Regions from separate parts of the Homo sapiens genome. Here all the other regions are linked to region 3. The links are contacts of gene promoters, found by promoter capture Hi-C in human tissues and cell types (Jung and others, 2019). All regions are on one chromosome and are shown on one strand. Each heading gives the region's core, a stretch centred on a gene start or on the middle of the fragment in contact. The rest is flanking DNA. Distances are from core to core; before and after follow the strand shown.

What was found. Contacts are between HindIII fragments. The study calls those that stand out against the background at their distance.
Region 1: a fragment that was not itself captured here is called in contact with the fragment with the promoter of SLC44A1 in region 3 in 2 of the 25 tissues and cell types used here (hippocampus and pancreas).
Region 2: a contact is called between a fragment that was not itself captured here and the fragment with the promoter of SLC44A1 in region 3, in 1 of the 25 tissues and cell types used here (hippocampus).

What each region holds. Positions count from the first base shown.
Region 1 is chr9:105,492,700-105,496,769 of GRCh38, reverse strand. The region is part of intron 7 of FSD1L (fibronectin type III and SPRY domain containing 1 like); the gene reads right to left. Among named protein-coding and RNA genes, the nearest start is that of FSD1L, 47 kb to the right of the region's middle. The HindIII fragment of the contact is 4,377 bases long and covers 1-3,954 here.
Region 2 is chr9:105,042,542-105,047,284 of GRCh38, reverse strand. No RefSeq gene overlaps it. Among named protein-coding and RNA genes, the nearest start is that of CT70, 53 kb to the right of the region's middle. The HindIII fragment of the contact is 6,129 bases long and covers 1-4,743 here.
Region 3 is chr9:105,242,512-105,247,023 of GRCh38, reverse strand. It overlaps SLC44A1 (solute carrier family 44 member 1), which reads right to left and starts at 2,373. Exons shown (of 16, transcript NM_080546.5): 1 at 2,120-2,373. The coding sequence starts at 2,155. LOC112268038 (a long non-coding RNA gene) reads left to right here and starts at 1,431. Exons shown (of 3, transcript XR_002956866.2): 1 at 1,431-2,005. RefSeq lists silencers at 1,431-1,510, 1,851-1,990, 2,001-2,600 and enhancers at 923-1,826, 1,827-2,731. The HindIII fragment of the contact is 14,998 bases long and covers 1-4,512 here.

The DNA.
Region 1 (4,070 bases), core at 517-3,016, 250 kb before region 3:
AACTCCTGAAACTAGTAAGTGATTGCAGCAAGGCTGCAGGATACAAGGCCTACCACTTTCCTGTATACCAGAAATGAACAAGTGAAATTTGAAATTAAAACACAATACCATTTACATCAGCACCCCCAAAATGAAATCTTTTGATACAAATCTAACAAAATATGTTCCATGTTTATATGAGGAAAACTACAAAACTCTAATGAAAGAAATCAAAGAACTAAATCAATGTAGAGACATTCCAATGTTTATGGATAGAAATACTCAATGTTCTTAAGATGTCAGTTCTTCCCAATTTGACCTACAGATTGATTGCAATCCCAATCATAATCCCAGTAAGCTATTTTGTGGATATCAATAAGATGACTCTAAAGTTTATATGGAAAGGCAAAGGATCCAGATAAAGGCAACACAGTATTGAAAAAGAAGATCAAAGTTGGAAGACTGAAACTAGTCAACTCTCAGACATAGTACGGGAGGCGGAGCTTGCAGTGAGCAGAGAGATTGTGCCACTGCACTCCAGCCTGGGCGACACAGCGAGATTCCGACACAAAAAAAAAAAAAAAAAAAGCTACAGTCATCAAGACCTGGTACTGGTGAAAGAAGAGACAAATAGATCAAAGGAACCAAAGGCAAGCTTCATGAAAGAAACAGTAAGATAGGCTAAACATTATTAGAATTAAAAATCTTGCTCTGTAAAAGACATCGTCAAGGGGAAAAAAAGCCAGACAGGGAGACAATATTTGCAAAAGAAACATCTGATAAGGACTACACAGAATTCCTTTTCTTTTTTTTTTTTTTTTAGATGGAGTCTCACTCTGCTGCCAGGCTGCAGTGCAGTGGTGCAATCTCGGCTCACTGCAAGCTCCGCCTCCCGGGTTCATGCCATTCTGCCTCAGCCTCCCGAGGAGCTGGGACTACATGCGCCCATCACTACGCCCAGCTAATTTTTGTATTTTTAGTACAGAGGAGGTTTCACCATGTTAGCCAGGATGGTCTCGATCTCCTGACCTTGTGATCTGCCCGCCTCGGGCTCCCAAAATGCTGGGGTTACAGGCGTGAGCCACCGCGCCCGGCCCAAAGAACTCTTAATATTCAACAATAAGAAAAGAAACAACCCGAGCTGGAGCCAAGATGGCCGAATAGGAACAGCTCCGGTCTACAGCTCCCAGCGTGAGCTACGCAGAAGACAGGTGATTTCTGCATTTCCATCTGAGGTACCGGGTTCATCTCACTAGGGAGTGCCAGACAGTGGGCGCAGGACAGTGGGTGCAGCGCACCCTGCACGAGCCGAAGCAGGGCGAGGCATTGCCTCACTCGGGAAGAGCAAGGGGTCAGGGAGTTCCCTATCCTAGTCAAAGAAAGGGGTGACAGACGGCACCTGGAAAATCAGGTCATTCCCACCCCAATACTGCACTTTTCCGACGGGCTTTAAAAACAGCGCACCAGGAGATTATATCCCGCACCTGGCTCCGAGGGTCCTACACCCACGGAGTCTCGCTGATTGCTAGCACAGCAGTCTGAGATCAAACTGCAAGGTGGCAGCGAGGCTAGGGGAGGGGCACCCGCCATTGCCCAGGCTTGCTTAGGTCAACAAAGCAGCCGGGAAGCTCAAACTGGGTGGAGCCCACCACAGCTCAAGGAGGCCTGCCTGCCTCTGTAGGCTCCACCTCTGGGGGCAGGGCACAGACGAACAAAAAGACAGCAGTAACCTCTGCAGACTTCAATGTCCCTGACAGCTTTGAAGAGAGCAGTGGCTCTCCCAGCATGCAGCTGGAGATCTGAGAACAGGCAGACAGCCTCCTCAAGTGGGTCCGTGACCCCTGACCCCCGAGCAGCCTAACTGGGAGGCACCCCCTCCATAGGGGCAGACTGACACCTCACACGGCCGGGTACTCCTCTGAGACAAAACTTCCAGGGGAACGATAAGACAGCAGCATTTGCGGTTCACGAAAATCCACTGTTCTGCAGCCACCGCTGCTGGTACCCAGGCAAACAGGGTCTGGAGTGCACCTCTAGCAAACTTCAAAAGACCTGCAGCTGAGGTCCTGTCTGTTAGAAGGAAAACTAACAAGCAGAAAGGACATCCACGCCAAAAACCCATCTGTACATCACCATCATCAAAGACCAAAAGTAGATAAAACCACAAAGATGGGGAAAAAACAGAACAGAAAAACTGGAAACTCTAAAAACCAGAGCGCCTCTCCTCCTCCAAAGGAACGCAGCTCCTCACCAGAAATGGAGCAAAGCTGAATGGAGAATGACTTTGACGAGTTGAGAGAAGAAGGCCTCAGACGATCAAACTACTCCAAGCTACAGGAGGAAATTCAAACCAAAGGCAAAGAAGTTGAAAACTTTGAAAAAAATTTAGACGAATGTATAACTAGAATAACCAATACAGAGAAGTGCTTAAAGGAGCTGATGGAGCTGAAAGCCAAGGCTCGAGAACTACGTGAAGAATGCAGAAGCCTCAGGAGCCGATGCAATCAACTGGAAGAAAGGGTATCAGCAATGGAAGATGAAATGAATGAAATGAAGCGAGAAGGGAAGTTTAGAGAAAAAAGAATAAAAAGAAATGAACAAAGCCTCCAAGAAATATGGGACTATGTGAAAAGACCAAATCTATGTCTGATTGGTGTACCTGAAAGTGACGGGGAGAATGGAACCAAGTTGGAAAACACTCTGCAGGATATTATCCAGGAGAACTTCCTCAATCTAGCAAGGCAGGCCAACATTCAGATTAAGGAAATACAGAGAATGACACAAAGATACTCCTCAAGAAGAGCAACTCCAAGACACATAATTGTCAGATTCACCAAGGTTGAAATGAAGGAAAAAATGTTAAGGGCAGCCAGAGAGAAAGGTCGGGTTATCCACAAAGGGAAGCCCATCAGACTAACAGCGGATCTCTCGGCAGAAACTCTACAAACCAGAAGAGAGTGGGGGCCAATATTCAACATTCTTAAAGAAAAGAATTTTCAACCCAGAATTTCATATCCAGCCAAACTAAGCTTCATAAGTGAAGGAGAAATAAAATACTTTACAGACAAGCAAATGCTGAGAGATTTTGTCACCACCAGGCCTGCCCTAAAAGAGCTCCTGAAGGAAGCAGTAAACATGGAAAGGAAAAACCAGTACCAGCCACTGCAAAATCAGGCCAAATTGTAAAGACCATCGAGGCTAGGAAGAAACTGCATCAACTAACGAGCAAAATCACCAGCTAACATCATAATGACAGGATCAAATTCACACATAACAATATTAACCTTAAATGTAAATGGACTAAATGCTCCAATTAAAAGACACAGACTGGCAAATTGGATAAAGAGTCAAGACCCATCAGTGTGCTGTATTCAGGAAACCCATCTCACGTGCAGAGACACACATAGGCTCAAAATAAAAGGATGGAGGAAGATGTACCAAGCAAATGGAAAACTAAAAAAGGCAGGGGTTGCAATCCTAGTTTCTGATAAAACAGACTTTAAACCAACAAAGATCAAAAGAGACAAAGAAGGCCATTACATAATGGTAAAGGGATCAATTCAACAAGAAGAGCTAACTAGCCTAAATATATATGCACCCAATACAGGAGCACCCAGATTCATAAAGCAAGTCCTGAGTGACCTACAAAGAGACTTAGACTCCCACACAATAATAATGGGAGACTTTAAAACCCCACTGTCAACATTAGACAGATCAACGAGACAGAAAGTTAACAAGGATATCCAGGAATTCAACTCAGCTCTGCACCAAGTGGACCTAATAGACATCTACAGAACTCTCCACCCCAAATCAACAGAATATACATTTTTTTCAGCACCACACCACACCTATTCCAAAATTGACCACATACTTGGAAGTAAAGCTCTCCTCAGCAAATGTAAAATATCAGAAATTATAACAAACTGTCTCTCAGACCACAGTGCAATCAAACTAGAATTCAGGATTAAGAAACTCACTCAAAACCATTCAACTACATGGAAACTGAACAACCTGCTCCTGAATGACTACTGGGTACATAACAAAATGACGGCAGAAATAAAGATGTTCTTTGAAACCAATGAGAACAAAGA
Region 2 (4,743 bases), core at 742-3,241, 200 kb after region 3:
ATTCTACTAATGGCTTATGAGTGCTTACAAATTAAGCAGCAATCCCTCTAAGCCAGTAGCATTTCAGTAAAACAGGTCATGCTAGAGTAATCTAATTTCCTTTTTTGATTAAGGCCATTAGACTGGTTGAGCAGATATGTGGAGTGAGCACAGAATATCTGGATGACAGCCAGACATGTCTCATGTGACATTATTGAATGCAAAATGTGGAAAGAGAGGCTGGATACAGGTATCATGTGGTGGCTTCATAATTATACCCAGTGGATACCAATTAATGAATGGAAAGTGATATGGAAGCAAGCCCCTTGTGGCTGCTGCAGGGCATTAGTCTTGGGCCTGTGCCTGTCCGTACTTTATTTTTATTAGCATATACCAGGTCAAGCAATGGATGTGCCATATCCTTTGCTCTTTGGGGAGCTCCTTGGTCCACAGACTTTTAGGAAGAGATAGATATAGTTAGCCATAGTTTGTGCCAGGTGACCCAAAATTCCAGGGTACGGCTTATTAGACACATTGCCTCAGGGATATATTTCATGGTATTGAAAGAACTTGTAGATCTGGCCCCTGGCTACCTCTCTAGTCTCATTTTTTTCTGTCCCCTTCCCCATGCTTCTAGCATTTCGTCATACCAACTCACAGTACTGTGCATACACCATGTCGTTTTATGCCCCCTTCATTTTGCCTTTTCTTGTCTCTGACTGGAATGCCTTCCTTTCTCTTCTACCTACTTCTTGATCTGTCTGACAAGCTCCTACTCATCATTCAAGACTCAACAAAAGACTGTGTGTGGTGGCCCACACCTGTAATTCTAGCACTTTGGCAGGACGAGGCAAGAGGATCACTTGAGCCAAGAGTTCAAGATCAGCTTCGGCAACACAATGAGACCTCGTTGCTACAAAAAAATAAAATTAACCAGGCATGGTGGTGCCTACTTGTCTCAGCTACTGGGAGGGCTGAGGTGGGAGGATCGCTTGAGTCCGGGAGGTGGAGGTTGCAGTGAGCCGAGATCATACTGCTGTACCCTAGCCTGGGCCACAGAGTGAAACCCTATCTCAAAAAAAAAAAAAAAAAAAGTCCACAAAAAAAACTAGCCAGGGCATGGTGACATGTACCTGTAGTCCCAGTGACTCAGGAGGCTGAGGTGGGAGGGTTGCTTGAGGCTAGGAGGTTGAGGCTGCAGTAAGCCATAATTGTACCACTGCCCTTTGGCCTGGGCAACAGAACAAGACACTGTATCAAAAAAAAAAAAAGAAAAAAAAAAGGCTCAGCTATAGCTTCATGTCCACTGTCAAGTCTTTCTTCTCCTTCATACTTTTTCCCTACACCATTTCTAATGCATTATTCCCCATCCGAATTTTGATGCTTGTACCTACCACTGTTTTAGTAATTATCACAGTGTATTAATAACCTGTTTACTTGTCTGTCTCTCCTGCATTCTGTTCTCCACCCACACTTCCCTTCCCATATAAACACTTTCAGCTCATTGAGGACAGGGACTGGATCCCACCCAGTGCTTGGCACTTAGCGGAGACATTCAGTTAAAGAATAAATGAATAAAAATGAATGAATGAATACCTTGTATAAAAACCCATTATTCTGGCTCTTTGTTAATGAGTCTCAGCCTGCTGAGAATCACAATTACATTTCCACGTAGCCTAATCCAGCTTCCTAAAGGATTTCTTAAAAAAAAAAAAAAATACTCAACAGGAGTCCTTTTCCCTCTAGTCACCTGCCATCTCAATAAGGGCTTATAAATGCACTGGAACAGCAACAGGACTCTCATACACAAACCTCAGGACCATAACCTTGCAGAGCCCCCCAGGGATGCCAGTGCCTTGATTCACTGGGAAGTACCCAGCAAAAATCCAATTTTTCAAGGCTACCCTTCTGTAGCCTCCAAGAAGGCACATCCAAGCTTACTAGATAGCAAGAAGCATTTTTAGATCTCTTGTCTGCACTGTTGTTTTTTTGTTTGTTTGTTTGTTTTTTTGAGATAGACTCTCGCTCTGTCACCCAGGCTGGAGTGCAGTGGCATGATCTCGGCTCACTGCAACCTCCGCCTTCCGGGTTCAAGCAATTCTCCTGCCTCAGTCTCCTGAGTAGCTGGGATTACAGGCTTGCACAACCATGCTTGGCTAATTTTTGTATTCTTGGGAGAGACGGGTTTTCACCATGTTGGCCAGGCTGGTCACGAACTCCTGACCTCAAGTGATCTGCCCACCTCAGCCTCCCAAAGTGCTGGGATTATAGGCATGAGCCACCGCACCCGCCATTGTCTGCACTTTTTGAAAAGGGAATTGAGCCTCACTCATCTTATCCCTTTTCTTCTAATTGTTTCAGAAAGTACCTACCAACTTGTTTAAATGCAGCCAGATCAGGGAGACAGAAAGAATAATTCAGCCTTCCTGTTGCTGTAGGAAGAGTCTAATTATCCTGGGAGGATCTGGACCTTTAAAAAGGATGCTCTGTGGCTTAATGAAAGAATTCAAATTCAAATGGGAGCACCAAATGCAAGTCAGCAGGCATCTATGTCTGTGCCAATTATTCAGTTCTAAATAGCTAGACCAGGCAGTGTTTGTTGCAGGTTGGCCGAGATGCCTGAGTGGAAGACTGGCAGTCTGGCTTGATACCAATGCTCCTGAGCTCATTTTGGTCCCCATGTAATGGGAGTTGGCATTCAGCACACTCCAGAACGCAGGGGATGATGCCCCACTGGTGACCCTTCACACTCAAGGCTAGGACTGGCCTCCCATGGAGATTCCTGCCAAACTAGAGAGATAAAAGCCTGGAGCTCTGGAGCAGACAGACCAGTGTGTAGATCTTCAGTGTGATCATAGAGTCTGAAGGAGACTCAGACCTAATTAATCACCTTTAAAGGGGCATCCAAATTTATTAATAATGTATACATGAAGAGTTTTCTGTTTTGATCAAGGCAAGTATGAAATACTTAGAAGCTTATAATCCTTATTATATGACACTCTGGTCTGTTTGTGAAACTTTCATCTGAAGCTCTCAAAATACTTAATGGCTGATGCTTATTAATCATAATGTCATATGCTTGGGCAGAAATTTTCCTTGCGGGCTCCATGTCCTCACAATGCCCTGGCTAGAAAGCTCTAGAACTCTTGGATCCTGCCTTGTAGTCGAGAAACAAGGGTTAGAGGGCTTACTAGAGTGTGAAGATAAGTAGAAATTTCACACTTTTCTGGCTATCTCTTCAGGGTGTCTAAGGGGACGCTGCCATGAGCAAAAATCCCCCCACAGATCAAGATGGGGCATGCCTTTTGTCTGCTATGGGTCAAGCTCCCAAATTTTGGAGACAAATAGACTAGATCACACCCATTATTTTCGTCTATTTGTCATTTGAGGTTTGAAAAGGCATCTGTAGGATCTAGAGAATGGAAGGCCAAACTAAGAGAAGAGAAGGAAGTTTGTTGAATACCTTTTTTAGCCCCTACAGTCTAACAGAAGAGAATATGAGGGAATCAGGGCTTTGTGGGACCTCTTATCAGAAAGAGAATAGGGAAAAGATAAAGTTAGATCCCTGACTCACTCTGTGATGGCAATTTTGTGTGTCAACTTGGCTAGGCCACTATATCTAGCTCTTTGGTCAAATACCAGTCAAGAGATCTCTGTGAAGATATTTCTAAGATGAAATTAACATTTATATCAGTAGACTTCGAGTAAAGCAGATTACCCTCCATAAACTGGGTGGGCCTTGTCCAATCAGTTGAAGGCGTTAAGATTATGAAAAATTGAGGTCTCCTGAGAAAAAGAGAATACTGCCTCTGAACTTCCTCCTCCTCCTCCTCCCCCTCCTTCTCCCCCTCCCCCTCCTCCTCCTCCTCCTCCTTTTTTCTTCCTCTTCTTTTTTTTTTTTTTTTTTTGAGACAGGGTGTCTGTTGCCCAGGCTGGAGTGCAGTGGCACAGTCCCATGGCAACTTTTGCCACCTGGGCTCAAGTCATCCTCTGGCCTCAGCCTCTCGAGTAGCTGGGTCTATAGGCACACCACCACCATGCCTGGCTAATTTTTGTATTTTTTGTAGAGACTGGGCTTCACCATGTTCCCCAGGCTGGTCCTAAACTCCTGGACTCAAATGATCTGCCTGCCTCAGCCTCCCAAAGTGCTGGGATTACAGGCATGAGCCGTTCACCCCAGACTCCTTCTGACCCAAGCTACAACATTGATTCTTCCCTGGGTCTCCAGCCTGCCACCTGCTCTGCAGACTTTGAATTTGCCAGTCACACAACTGGCTCAATTCCTAAAATCTCTCTCTCCCTCTCTCCTCTCTCTCTCTCTCCGTATACATATCTTATTGGTTCTGTTTTTCTGGAGATCACTAACATGCAACATCATATATCAGAATAAATTGAAATGGATTAAGGAATTAAATATAAACAAATAAAAAGATAAAAGTACTAGAAGGAAATACTAACAAATATCTTGATAGGGAGTGAAGAGGGAGTGAAGGTCTTTTTAGAAAATGTCACCATAGACAGAAACCAGAAAGAGGAACACAAACAGATTTACCATGAAAATTCTATTTCTTCTAAATATCCAAAAGTACCATAAGCATATAAAAATGCAAATGACAAACTGAAGAAAATTCTCAATCTATGTATCAGACTAAAAGTGAATATATTGAGTATGCAAAGAACTGTTAAAGAATAAAACAAGCTCACCATCCTAACTTTTAAAAATGGGCAAGAACAAGAAAGTGATAAAATAAAAACAAGTGACCA
Region 3 (4,512 bases), core at 1,124-3,623:
AACTTAAAAGCATGTGACAGCTGTTGATTGGTTATAGGAATCCACAGGAAAAAAATGCACCCCTTGGGTGCATGACATGCATCTTATCTGTGGAACAAGGCATGTTCTACAGTGAGAGGAGGTAAAAGAAAAGAAAACGTATACGATAGCATTCTGAAAAGTATGACGTGGAGCTAGACAAATGCAAGACCCACTATCGGTTTTAAAGCAGAGTTCTGATGCAGCACCCATCCCTCCCAAATTTAACTGTTCATGCACTGAACAAGCTATCCATAAACTATCAATACTTTTCTGTCTTAAAGGCATTTCACCACCAAAAGGGAATGTAAATTAACTCAATTCTGAAAAGAAAGGCAATCTGAAAAACACCTTTTTGGTGAAAATTATACTTAAGTAAATATTAAAGAGCACCCAACTAGACCCCCACAAATTCCTAACCAGTTGAAAGTTATGTGCAATTCTACACCTTTATATGTTAATATGAAAACTCTGATATACCAAGCCTCTCCTTCCTAACACCTCTACGTATAGTTTTACTTTGCTATTATAACTGAATAGGAATCTTTAACTACACCAAAAAGCCTGACTATAATGCTAGCAGGAAAAAAAAAAGCTAACGGGTAAGCAAACACTCAAAAAAAAAAAAAAAAGACTGGAGGAATAGGATGATAGGATGGATACCTAATAAAACACAAATGTCCCCCATTCATCTGCAATTCTAGTCATTTTCTCTCTAACAGATCTCAGATTTTCAGAACAAGTATGCAGGTTATTTAAAACTGAGTTATATATAGTCATTTAGCAGCAGCAAAAACACTTCTGGCATTATCACAGATGCTAGCTTTCTGGAGGAATTTTTTCCCCCCAAACTAGCGTTTTTCTTCACCAAGAACCAACCATCCTTTATTTCTAAAAACAAGAGCCCTTTTCTGCCCCCTAAAACAAACAAATCACAGACCACAGTTAATGAAACTACGCTAATGAAACTGTGAGATTACATCCCAGGCGTTGTCAGAGCCTATTTTTCATACACCACCACAAGACAGTTTGATGCAGTATTCCTGATTGCTTTTTATAGTATTTGTAAATACACTCGCTAATCCACTAAATTAGGTAATTTACAAACAGGTCCTCTCAGTTATTAGTGGCCAGTAGTCGAGTTCTATTACATTTGATCCTCGTACAGTTGTCTAAACATTTCCACCCAGGTTAAGGGCTCGGATCCGAGAGAAGGAGGTTGGCGAAATTTGGATGGGGGCAGGGTAGAAGCTGAGAGAAATCTCTGCATCTCAGCCCTCAGCGACAACATTCAGCCAGTGCCCACAGAAAAACTAAATTCGGAACCTCTTCCTCCTGTTACACTGGCAACAAAGAGGGAGTTTCCGTAGCGCTCCCGTCACCCACCAGGTGCCCAATCTCCTTCCCAGCCCAGAGTCGGCGCTCCCGCAGGGGCCTCCGAGTGCGGGGAGGCCGCGGGGCCCGGGTCACGGCACTAAGGGGGGATGGGGTGCAAGCGAGCAAGCGAGGTCTGCGGAGCGGGCCGTGGAAGGGCTCCGGGACCCGCTGAAACCATCTGAACCCAGCCAGGGGGCAGCGGGCAAGAGAAAAGGGACAGAATATCTAATGAAGCAGAAACTGGAATTCGGTGGGAGAGGTGAAGAGCTCTTGCTGGGGGTACACCTGCGAGGAGCACAGAAAACGGGCGGCGGATGGCGGGGAGACTCCACGGAGGTGGAAGAGAGGAGCCAGGCCCGGAAGAACAGGGAAGGGGATGCCACCTGGGGCAGAGGAGGCGCCAGTGCAGCCTCTACCTGCAGGCGGGCGGGACGGGCAGCTCAGGTGTGACTGGGAGGAGGGGGCCGACTGGGGAAGGGGCCGGGAAGAGCTGAGGGCGCACTAGGCGCCGCGCAGAGGCGCCTTTGAGTCGGCAGCCGCGGAGCCAGCGCACGGGCATCGGCGGGACCCGGCGGACGGAAAGGCGGAGTGGGGGTCTTTGGACTGCACGGTGCGCTCAGGGGAGGCTGGGGACAGCGAGAGGTATCGGGCGGCGGGCGCCCGCCGCGCGACGCGGCGCACGGGAGGCATCCGGGCGGGCGGCCGGGAGGCGGGAGCCCCTCACCTGCGCGGCGGAGGAGGCGGAGCTGCAGCAGCCCATGGCGGGGCCGAAGGAGCCCGGAGGCGGCGCCGGGCGCGCAGCTACGCCCCGGAGCCCCTCGGCATGCGAGCCGGCGGGCGCCCGGGGAGGGCGCGGCCTGGCACCGCACGGCTAGGCGGCGGCGGCGGCTGCAGCGGCGGCTGGTACTCAAGAGGCGGCGCGGCTAGAGGCAGGCGCCGGCCACATCCCCCGGCGGCGGCGACGGCGGCTACGCGTCTCCTGCTCTGCTCCTGCTGCAGCAGCTGCTCCCCAGCGGAAAGGGGCGGGCGGCGGCGGCGGCGGCGCCTCCCTCTGTCCCCCCGCCTCCCGCCTCCCGCGCCCAGTCCCTCTCCCGCTCCCTCTCCCGGGCCGCCGCCTCCTCAGCGCCGCGCGCGTCTCCCATCAGACTCCCCGCCCCCAGTGCAGCGCCGTGCTGGTGGCAGGGCGGCGGCAGCCAGAACAAGGCCGGGCCCTTCCGCGCGTGTCAGAGGCTGCGCGGCGCCGGGCTTATTTAGCTGTGGCACCGAGGCAGCTCTCTGCCTCGAGGCTGGAGGGCAACGCGGTCTGAGGCAGCCAAAGACCGGGCCAACTCGCTGCCAAAAAGGGGCCGGATTGCTTCCGGATCTAGGAGGCAAGCGGGACTTCTCCCTCTCCCTACTGGACGCACAACTCAGGATCCTGATGGCTTCTTACCGCCCCGTCGGCTGTTTTTTTTCTCCAGAGGAAAGCGTACACAAGAAACCTTTCCTGGAGAAGGAATAGGTGATAAGAAGACGGGAAGAAACAAGCATCTGTTGCTACTGTCCCCATTTTGCTGATGTGGAAACTGAGGCTTGAAAGGGACCAAGAACCTAATGAAATGTTCCCAAGGTTGAAATGGTAATAAATAGCCAGAAATGAGGAAAAGGCAAAAAGTTATCCAGGCTCGCAAGTCAAAGCCATACTGGATCTAAGCTAAACTTTCTTATACAGGATAGTCTACAAAAAACAATAAGGGGACATTAATTTATTCATATTAAAAATACTTACTGAAGACACACTACGTTCCAGTGACTAGTACTGGGAATAAAGAGGCGAGCAAAAGAGACTTACCAAGTTCCTGTTGCTAAATCAGTAAGACTCAAGGAAGTAGCAACAAGTTAGAGTAGACGTGGTAACTACCTTCAAGAAATTTACAATTCCAAACGAGTCGTTAGGAAATACAGTATGAGGTGAAAACAGTTAAAAAGTGAAAGAAATAAAACTAAAGATAATGATGTTAAAAAAAACCCCACATTATCAGGCACTGTTATAGCCTTCATATGTCATTTCATCTTGTCAAAGAATGTCTCAAAAGACAGCCACAGGAAAGAAAAGAAAAACTTTATTTGCAAAGCTGCAAGGGAGTGAGACTTCCAAAAGGACTGATTCACCAAATATGAGACATCAAGTTTTAAAGATTAGTTAAAGTATAGAGGGAAGAAAAGAACACAGAATTAAATTGACTTTACATGCACTGAAAGGGAATCTAAGCCAAGGAAAGTTGGAATGGTAGCCTGTAAGGGGACAGCTACAGAAAGGGCCAGGGAAGAAGAATTCCTAATTGATGTTTTCCTATGCCATTTCCTGAGTTCGTGACTGTGGACGAGTTATCTCTCCAAATCTCATTGTCCGCTTCTGTGAAATGCTGGTAGCAGGGATGACTGCAAAGGCTTGTGGTCAAGATTAAATAACATAAGAAAGTGCTGCTAGGTCAGCAAGTACTCAACTGATTGAGATCTTGAATTCTTCTGCATTCTTTCTAGTTTCCTTTCAGGTTAATCAGAGGGTCCACCATACCACGGAGCTGGCGAATCCTACATGTGTTTCCCATAACCATTAAACCAATAAATACAAGTGAAGACATAAAACTAATGGTTCTAGTCCCAATTCTGGTTGTAAACTCCAGAATTAGATTGTAAACTCCCTGAGAACAAGGAAAAGTATTTTCTCCTTTGTATCTCCCTCAGCTCTCTCAAATGTTTGTTGAATTATTCAGTGCAGCCAAGAATAAAAAACATTCCCTTGAGATTTTCCCTCAAAGCCAGAAAAGTACATCTTGTTTTTAACTCGGGGAGGAGGCTGAAAGTAAAACTACAGTCCTAAACAAGAAGCCATCTGTCTTCCTTCTTTATAGTCAAGGAAAGGGGAGTTGTTTCTCTTTGCAGAGTCAATATGGGAGCATTTCTCTCAGATTAGAAAAATCTTTTTGGCTAGTGCTGCCGTTCCGTGTAGTAGCTAGTGCTTATTCTGTAATTGGAACTGTAGAAGGAGATAAATGCGTAACAGACTGTGGCAGTGCTTCATAAAATGTATTTTGCTTTTTTAGAGATCTCTTTCCTAGACATAGATAATGGGTG